2 separate regions of the Homo sapiens genome follow, and region 1 is linked to region 2. Evidence: promoter capture Hi-C in 16 types of primary human blood cells and fetal thymus (Javierre and others, 2016). All regions are on one chromosome and are shown on one strand. Each heading gives the region's core, a stretch centred on a gene start or on the middle of the fragment in contact. The rest is flanking DNA. Distances are from core to core; before and after follow the strand shown.

The links. Contacts are between HindIII fragments. The CHiCAGO score rates a contact against its expected background, and 5 or more counts as called.
Region 1: a contact is called between a fragment that was not itself captured here and the fragment with the promoter of STEAP3 in region 2, in 1 of 17 cell types (M1 macrophages). The highest score is 5.0, in M1 macrophages.

What each region holds. Positions count from the first base shown.
Region 1 is chr2:118,908,725-118,912,896 of GRCh38, forward strand. No RefSeq gene overlaps it. Among named protein-coding and RNA genes, the nearest start is that of MARCO, 31 kb to the right of the region's middle. The HindIII fragment of the contact is 4,597 bases long and covers 1-4,172 here.
Region 2 is chr2:119,221,472-119,225,637 of GRCh38, forward strand. STEAP3 (STEAP3 metalloreductase) reads left to right here and starts at 2,363. Exons shown (of 6, transcript NM_182915.3): 1 at 2,363-2,417. RefSeq lists silencers at 2,106-2,885, 2,946-3,015. The HindIII fragment of the contact is 5,957 bases long and covers 280-4,166 here.

The DNA.
Region 1 (4,172 bases), core at 951-3,450, 310 kb before region 2:
CCAGAGTATAAGTCCTCAGCACTGCTCAGAAAAAGTAAACACGAGCAATGCGAGATTTGACTTCTGTGCAGTTAATTTAAACTCCGCTCTGAATATAAATCAGCTACTTTAGTTCCGATCCACTCAGTCCCATCCCAAGGCCCACGCTGAATGATAAACACTGGCTGCTGGAAAGGGAGAAATCGTGAAAGGCAGAATGAACTATTTCCTTCAGCCCAAGTGAAGTTCCTGGACAAGCAAAGGACACTGCTCCTTTTGAAGAAAGCCTTCTTGGTGACATTCGGAAGACCTTCCTCTGGGCAGAAGGGTCTGCTTATTGGATGTGGAAAGCTAGCTAGCCTTAAGATTTTGAGGACCTGGCAGTGCTTCCAGGTGGAAGGGAAAACCACCCAAAGAGTCCCCATAAAAGTTTCTAGGGAATGACGCCATTATAAACCTCGTCTTAAAGGCCTGGGATCTTGTGTTTAAAGGCTATAATTAGAACAAGTAGGAGGGCGCAGAGCAAGCTATTCTGGCTTCGGGCTGCCTGATGTGGCTCCCTTGAATATCAGAGGTGGTGGCTAAGCTGATGGAGCACAGGGGGAAGGGAGGAGTGAGTGGAATGCAGCTCCACCTCCCTCCTAACTGCTAAAGGAATATAGAGGTCGCAGTTGGGTCTGTCCAAGAGGGGCCCTAGAGGAATACACCCATTCCAACTTCTCCCACTGAGCAAAAGCTGTCTCGAAGGCCATCAGGACAGAAGTGCCATGTTCCTGAGTGAAGATGGAGTTAATGCCTATGAGAAAGATCAGTCATGGCTGGTGAGAGCCCAAACCTTTCCTCCAATAGACTCTCCTGGACCCCAAGACTCCCATATCAGAGCTTCACTGCTGAGTCTAGACTTTAAAAATGCTGATATGCAGATCTATAACCTAGATGAATAGGCCCAGGTTCCGTTGTTCATTCAGTAAACATTATGACCTCCAGTTCCAGGTCACACAGTATGCTAGGTGATGGTGGTACAAAGCTGAAAAAACATGGACACTTCTCTCAAGTGTCAGCATATAATTTTCAAAAAGTTAGAAACATAAATTTTCTTACCAATATAGGGTGAATGTGTGCCAAAGATTTTACTCAACTTTTGAATTAAATAATGAGAGACCAGTAATATGGTAAAATTGGTTCCAAGAGCACTTCATGACTTAGAATGATATAGTCCATCAGGAAAAAGTATGAAAGAGAGAGAGAGGAGGAGGGAAGGAAGGAAGGAAAGAAAGAAAGAAGGAAGATTGTTAGGCTAGATCAAAACTGGTTAATGTCCTACAGGGCAATAACAGCATAATATTTGAGGTTATCTTTTTTTTTTTTTTTTTTTGCCAGACAGAAATCTGCAGCTAAACATGTCATTTCCCAGTGCCTAGGTGCTAACCAAATAGCATATACCATAGTCAAGCACAAGTACATTCTCTCTGAGAATTAAAAACGGTTTGTTAAACAATGCCCTGGTAAAACATTGAAGGACCTACTGTACTTCCTGTCTAGTTACAAGATTTCAAAACTTTTTTCTTGACACAAGAAATGTAGAATAACATGACAATCAACCCTCCAGATGAGACTAGGATTCAGGTCAATGGATAGAGACAGAGGAGAAAATATGGGCCTTGGAGCCGGGAAACCTGGGTATGAGTCCTGTCGCCCAGGTGTTGTGTGGCTTTGGGCAACTCATATTACCTCCTAAGCCATAGGTTCTTTCTCTGCTCATTGAGAATGTTGAACTGCATAGGCTCTGGTCCCCGCTTTGGCCCTAATATTTTCTGAATTACAATGGATTATGAAACAAGGCCATCAGGCAAGTCCTTCTGTCTGTAGTGGCAGAGCAGAGGAAAAGTGCCATGGTAGGTCTTCAGATAACTGAAGAAGAGAGGGAAGGGGAGGAAGAGGGTGCATAAGAGCATCAAATGCAAAGACAGCGTACCAAAGACAGACAAAAGGATTTCCATCCAAGCTCTACCCTTCTCCCAGCCTCTTCTCCCAATCAGTAGTCTGGGATGTTGCAAAGAGTCAGGACAGGCTAGGTCATGCTGCAGTAACAAATTGATACTGAAATCTCAACTGCTGAACACAACCAAAGTTTATTTCTTCCTTGTAGAATTCTAGTGGGCAGCTGTCCCATGTGATGACTAAGAAATTCATACTTTTTCTACCCTATATATCTACTATCTTTGTGTGTAGCTTCCTGAGTCACTGTAGCAGAGCAAGAGAGAGCATAGAGCACCCACACCTGCTTTTAACTACATGTAACTTGTACTCTTGGGGCATTGGCTAAAACTAGTCACATGGTTCCAACTAAATCAAGGGGGCTGAGAAGTAAATCTTCCATGGATCTAGGAAGAAGAGAAGAACCAGATATTTGAGCCCTGATCTGGAAAGAATCTAGCTCCTATAAAGGCTGAGGATCTTTTGAGAACTCCAAGACACCATCATCCAGTCTCTGACTCTGGAACATCTGCTGGAATAAGGAAAAGTTCAGCCAGACACCTCGATACTCTGTGCAGCCAATCTGCAACCAGAGGCCTCCAAGCCTGGGGCCATGTCTACACAGTTCATGGAGAGGAGGCCTGGTTCATCTGAGTTATTACACCGTGTAGACAGCCACTTTGAGTCCTCAGGAAGCCAAAGCAGGGCTCTTAATTTCCCAGTGATCTGTGGCCTGAGGTTTCTGCATAGATCATTGCCAAAGTCCACTTTCTCGTGTTATAGAAGAAAGAATGTTCTTCTCAAAAGGAAAATCGTTTTTATTTGCTCCTGTGTATCATCCTCTGATTGTCCCTTGTTTATAACCTTGATTGTTTCAGAATCTAGATTCTTGTCTCTAGCAAGATTACAACTTCCTTGAGTAGGAACAATGTTGTTAGTTTTTCTAACAACAACAAATGCTGAGGATGGTGCTATTCATTGACTCATGCATGTATGATCAGAGCACCACAGGGCTGATGTCTGGATATGGATTAGTGACCAGGATTATTATGTATCACGGGTGCTAGTCAAGGATGCTGGTCAGAGATGTAAGGAAGGGGCTTTCCTAAACAGGCTAGACACATGAGAGTCTCTGACCCTTCCCTAACCACCAGCCTTCACCATTAACTATTTCTCTTTCAGTCTCTTTCTCTTTCAACTTGTTCCACATAATATTTGAGGTTTCATACAGATACACAGAAAATTGAACAACATTAAAAAATTGACAAAACGAGAATATCAGATTATCATTCTAAAAGGAACTCCCGGTCAGCATCACAAAAATTATTAACATTGTACTTGAGGCAGAGCATCTAGGACCGTCCCTAGTTCCTGGCGCCTCTGGCGGCCTCGCCTTTGCTCAGGGCACCAAACAGAACATGTGGGAGGTGGGACCCAGTGGAAGTGGCACAGGATGCCCATGTGTACAGGGCACATGATGAAGGTGCCACAATGTTCCTGGGCATGGAAACCAAAGCCACTCTCAGGGAATAGAAGAATACGTGCCCTTCTGAATGGAAGTAGATTTAAAAGGCACCCTCCTTCTTCTAAGCTCTGTCACCATATTCAATGGCACGTCACATCATGATGGGATTTGTAGCTTGAAGCCAGTGATGCCACCAAATTGCTGTGTGACCTTAGTAAGTTATATCACCTCACTGAATCCCAGCTTTTTCATCTGTAAAATGGGGATAAGACCAGTTGTCTTGCAGGGTTTTGTAAAGAATTCCTGTCAGTCTCTGAGTGACTTGCCTGATTTTCCTCCTCAGTCTGGGAACTGCAAAATGTTATTGAACTGAACCTGGGTCGGCTCACCCAGCACAGCAAAGCCAAACGCTGACACTGAGATTTGCAGGGAGAGAAAGAAAGCATTTATTGCAGGGCACCAAGCAAGGGAAATTCAACAGCTAACACTTAAGACCTGAGCTTCTCGATGGCTTACAAAAAAGGGCTTTCAAGGGCAGGGATACATTTCAGAAAGCAGAAGTTACAGGCAAAATCATAAATCAATACATGTAAGTTATTGGTTTGGCCCAAAAAGGTGAGCTATCTTTCTTTCTTTTTCTTTCTTTCTTCCTTTCTTTCTTTCTTTCTTTCTTTCTTTCTTTCTTTCTTTCTTTCTTTCTTTTCTGAGATGGAGTCTCTCTCTGTCACCCAGGCTTGAGTGCAGTGGCACA
Region 2 (4,166 bases), core at 1,113-3,612:
AGCAGAGAGAGGGAGACAGAGGATGAGGGCAGAGAGAAGGCCAATCACACTGGGCCACGGCTATTGCAAGGACTTTACTTTTGCTGGGGGAGGGGGTAGAGTTTTGAGCAGAGGAGAAATGCGATCTGGCAAACATCTTGCAAGGATGGCTCTGACTGTTCTATCCTTGGCAGAGGACACCAGAGTCTGGCCCATAGAAGGTGCTCAACAAAGCTCAGCACATTGCACTCCTCCCTGGAGTAGGAAAGGGCTCGTCTGCTTTGGGAAATTTGGCTCTCAAGCTTCTGGAAACACCTGACCCCATGCCAGGTGAGACAAGCTCACACTCAAGGCCCCCTTAGTCCAACGGTCAGTGGACAGAACAAGCACCAAAGGTCAACGGCGTGGGCGGTGGCCTCTCTGCCAAAGTGTGTGGGCCCAAGTAGGGTATTCACCTCCCTCCCTGTCTGTGAGAAATTTCAGACCCCTCTACTTTTTCCAGCAGGAGTTCATGTTCCTTTTAAGATAATCCTCTATAGACCTCTGGCAGCCCAGCCTTCAAAATGTCTCCCCCTGTCTCTCTTACTCATGGAGAGCCCCGCTTCCCCGCCTCAAAAAAAAGTCTTCCTCTCTCTTACTCATGCATGGAGAGCCCCACAAAAAGACACTGGTTCCCAGGGATTCTTCCAAAGATGCTGGAAGACCTCTCAGTGTTTGCATTTCCCAAGCTCGGTTTCCTTGTGCTGTCCTTGGGCATTAAAGGAAGGCTATTCAGCCATCCCCATCAGCAGGAGCAGGCATCAAAAGAACAGCTACTGCAGGGGGAGCATATTAGGGGCACCAGAGGGGGCTAGGAACTGGGTCTTGTCTTCTCAAAGTTTACAACCCACTGCAGGGGCCACTCACCAGCCCTGGCACCCTAAGGGCAGGAACCTCCATTGGGCACGTGTGTCTCCAGCACTGGGAGCACTGTCTGGCACCTGGGGCACTGTGAGTGTTGAATGGATAAAGGACCTGTAAGAATTGCCATAAGAGGTGTTGCCCTGGGGCAAGGTGGGACAGGAAAGTTCTTGCAAGAGAAGAGAGGCTCTGGCCTTGGGCCCTGGCTGAGCAGAGAGCTGGGAGGTGGGTATTCGGGTAGGAGGAAAGCTGTGGAGGGGGAAAGCAAACTGCCTGCGGGGGTGGGGGGGTTCTCGGCGGGAGTTGGGGGTGGAGGGAAAGGCGCTTTACAGCAGCACTCCCTCCACAGGGAGACCAGAGCTCTGCCTCTTCCTCCCCACCGTGCCCTTTGGGGTCCAGTTGTGGGGCCTTCCTTGAGGCCCAGCTCCTGCCTCTGGCCTCCGGAGGCTTATCTCCCCAACAGAGGCTGGCTCCCCAGAAAACAGGATTCTTAGACTTCCTAAAAATAACCTGAAGCTCCTTATCAGAGGCTAATAGTGTATGTCTCCCAGGAATACTCTAGAAAGAGTACCAGGGGTCAGGAACCCCCACTCAGCCTCCACGAATCTGAGCGGAAAAGCCCGGGTCTCCTCACCTGTAAAGAAAATAACTGCAGCCGGCAAATGTGACCACAGGTGAGAAGGGGCTTCGGACCAGGGCGCACACCTCTAGAGAGGTGCCCACAGACAGCCTCCCCTTACTTACGCCCTGCTTCGCTGCAGTGCTGTGAAGCCATCGGCATTGGAAGTGCGGAGGGCAGCGGGCAGTGCCCCAGGGGGAAGGGGGGACGGGTAGGGTTTCAGAGCCCAGAAGGCCTAGACAGGGAGGCAGCTCCGGGAGAAAGGTACCCGCCATCCCACCGGTCTTGGAACCTGAGGACTGCTGGGAAGGGTCAAAAGTCTGCCCTAAGGGTGGACAAGGGACAGAGATTGGGGGGGGACCACAAAGGCCTGGGCGCAACCTTGTTGAGAGGGAAGGGATCCGGACCCAATCTGGAGCCCTGGTCTCTTCCCACCTGCAACCGTGGCTGCCACTTGGCCTCGGTTATAAAATGGACAAGGATTCGAGGTGCTCCTCAGGTTAAGAGAGGGGGGCCTAGAGGTCACCCTGGCCTCGGTGCCCTCCGTGGCCGGGTTAAGAGGAGGTCCCGGAGTTCTGCTCACTTCAGCCGTGTGCCGGGCACTGCAAATCAGGAAGTGTTGGCGCCGGCTGGCGACCTCCCGCCTGGGGCCAGGGGAGGAGGGTGGTTGGACGCTGCCACCGCTGCCGGGGCTGTGCAGGGCTGGGCGGGGAGCGAGGACCCGGCGGCTCCTGATTGCGGCCCCGGGGGAGGTGGCCGAGCCGGATAAGCTGCGGCGGGCTGGAGGGCGGCCACCTCCCCTGCAGGTCCGGCCCTCCCGGGCGGGTGGGGCGCGGGGGAGGAGGAGCCTCGGGCCGAGCCACCGCCTTCGCCGCGGACCTTCAGCTGCCGCGGTCGCTCCGAGCGGCGGGCCGCAGAGGTGAGTGTACCCTCCCCCGGTCTCCGCGGGGCTGCGTGCTGCGCCCGGTCCCCGAGACGCCCGCCCGGTTGCACCCTGCGCCGTCGCTGCGCGGACCTCGGGTGCCGCCACACGTCTGGAGGCGACTTCTGTCCCCTGGGACCGAGCCACGTGCGCCCGGCGGCAGAGAAACCGGGTTCCGGGGCCCCCACCCCGTGTGCCTTCCTTCCCTAGGCGTGGAAGCCGCTTGCGCCGCGCAGGTTAGGCAGGGCCGGCGGCGACAGTGGCGGGGAGCAGGCTCCGGAGCCCCGGGTGCAGATGTGGGCGCCCCTCCGGATGACCCCGGCTGAGTCCACAGGTCCCGTGTGCCCCACGGCTGGGGCTCTGGCCAGCGGTCCCAAAGGAGGGCTGGTAGCTGTGGGCGGGGATCTTCCAGGCTCTTCCTCGCCAGACCTCCCAGTCCCTTCGCAGCCGAACAGGGCAGGGACAGGGGCAGGTGCAGGGGCTGGGCAGGGGCGCCCGACCTTGGTCCCCAGGAGGAGGCTGGCCTCACCAGTGCCCGCCTCTGCCCGCGGAGCCCTTGCCTGGCAAAGTTCCCCCTCCTGCCCGGCAAAGCTCCCCCTCCTGCCCACTTCCCCGAAATTTGGGGACAGGCTGCCCGGAGAGGTGTGGTTGGAACTTTGGTCACTCTGGGTAAATGAAGGGGAGGGTGTGCCCAGATAATATGCGGTTTGGGGACCAGAAAGCCGGATCCGTGGGGAGAAGCAGGAAGGTCCCGCTGGAGCCCTGGCAGAGGGCACAGAGAGGCCTCCCAAATATCCAGGGCCACCTCAGAGATGGGCTCCAGAAGTGGGGATTCTGGAAATGCCCCCAGGGAGGTATTTCTGTCCATCAGAGTGCAGCCATAATATAATTAACAGCAGATATTCCCATTTATGTGTGCCAGGCATCTTGCTAAGGGCTTTGAGCACAATATCCCAGTTAATCCTCACAACAGGAAGGCACCATTATCTCTTGTTAAAAATGGGGAAACAGCCTCAGAGAGTCCACGTATTTTGCAAGGATACACAGCTAGGAAGTTGCAGAAGTAGAATTTGAACCCAGAGTTATCTGACTTGGAGCCCAGAGGAACCTACCACTGGGGCGAAACAGGCTGTGTCCTCACGGGGATTCTGGCAGCCCCAAGAATACAGTGCTGAGAGCCAGAAGGTCCACAAAACCAAAGGGTCTCACCTGGGTGTGTCCTCTCAGTCACCTGCAAGGCTTGTTAAAAATATAGATCCCCAAGTCCCATCCGAAGCTGACTGAATCAGCTAGGGGCACCTGGAGGACCCAGACTATGTCTTACTCATCTCTGTCCCTGGTGGCCTGCAGAGGGGCTGGCAAGGAGCAGGTGCTTAGTGAATGTCTAATGGGTAAGTGGGCGGGGTGGGGTAGATGGTGTCACTAGTGTCCTGAAGGGGGCTTAAATGGAGCAGGTGGCCTCAGCCAGGCAATCCGGCAGCAGGTATGGAAGTGACACAGTCTAATGCTGGCCTCAGAGCCAGCAGGGAGCTCAGGCTGGGCCACTTGTCCACCTGGGGGTTGAACAGCCTGCCCCAGGTTTGCTGAGGTCCCCAGGACCAGGCCAGGTCAAGCTGGGATCACACATGTTCCCTCTCCAGCCTAGAGATGTCAAACAGGTAGATTCCTCTCCCATTCATATCTCCTATCCTTGGCCCACAGCCCTTCCCTTCTTGGACTTATCAGAGACCAAGGTGCTGGGCAGGG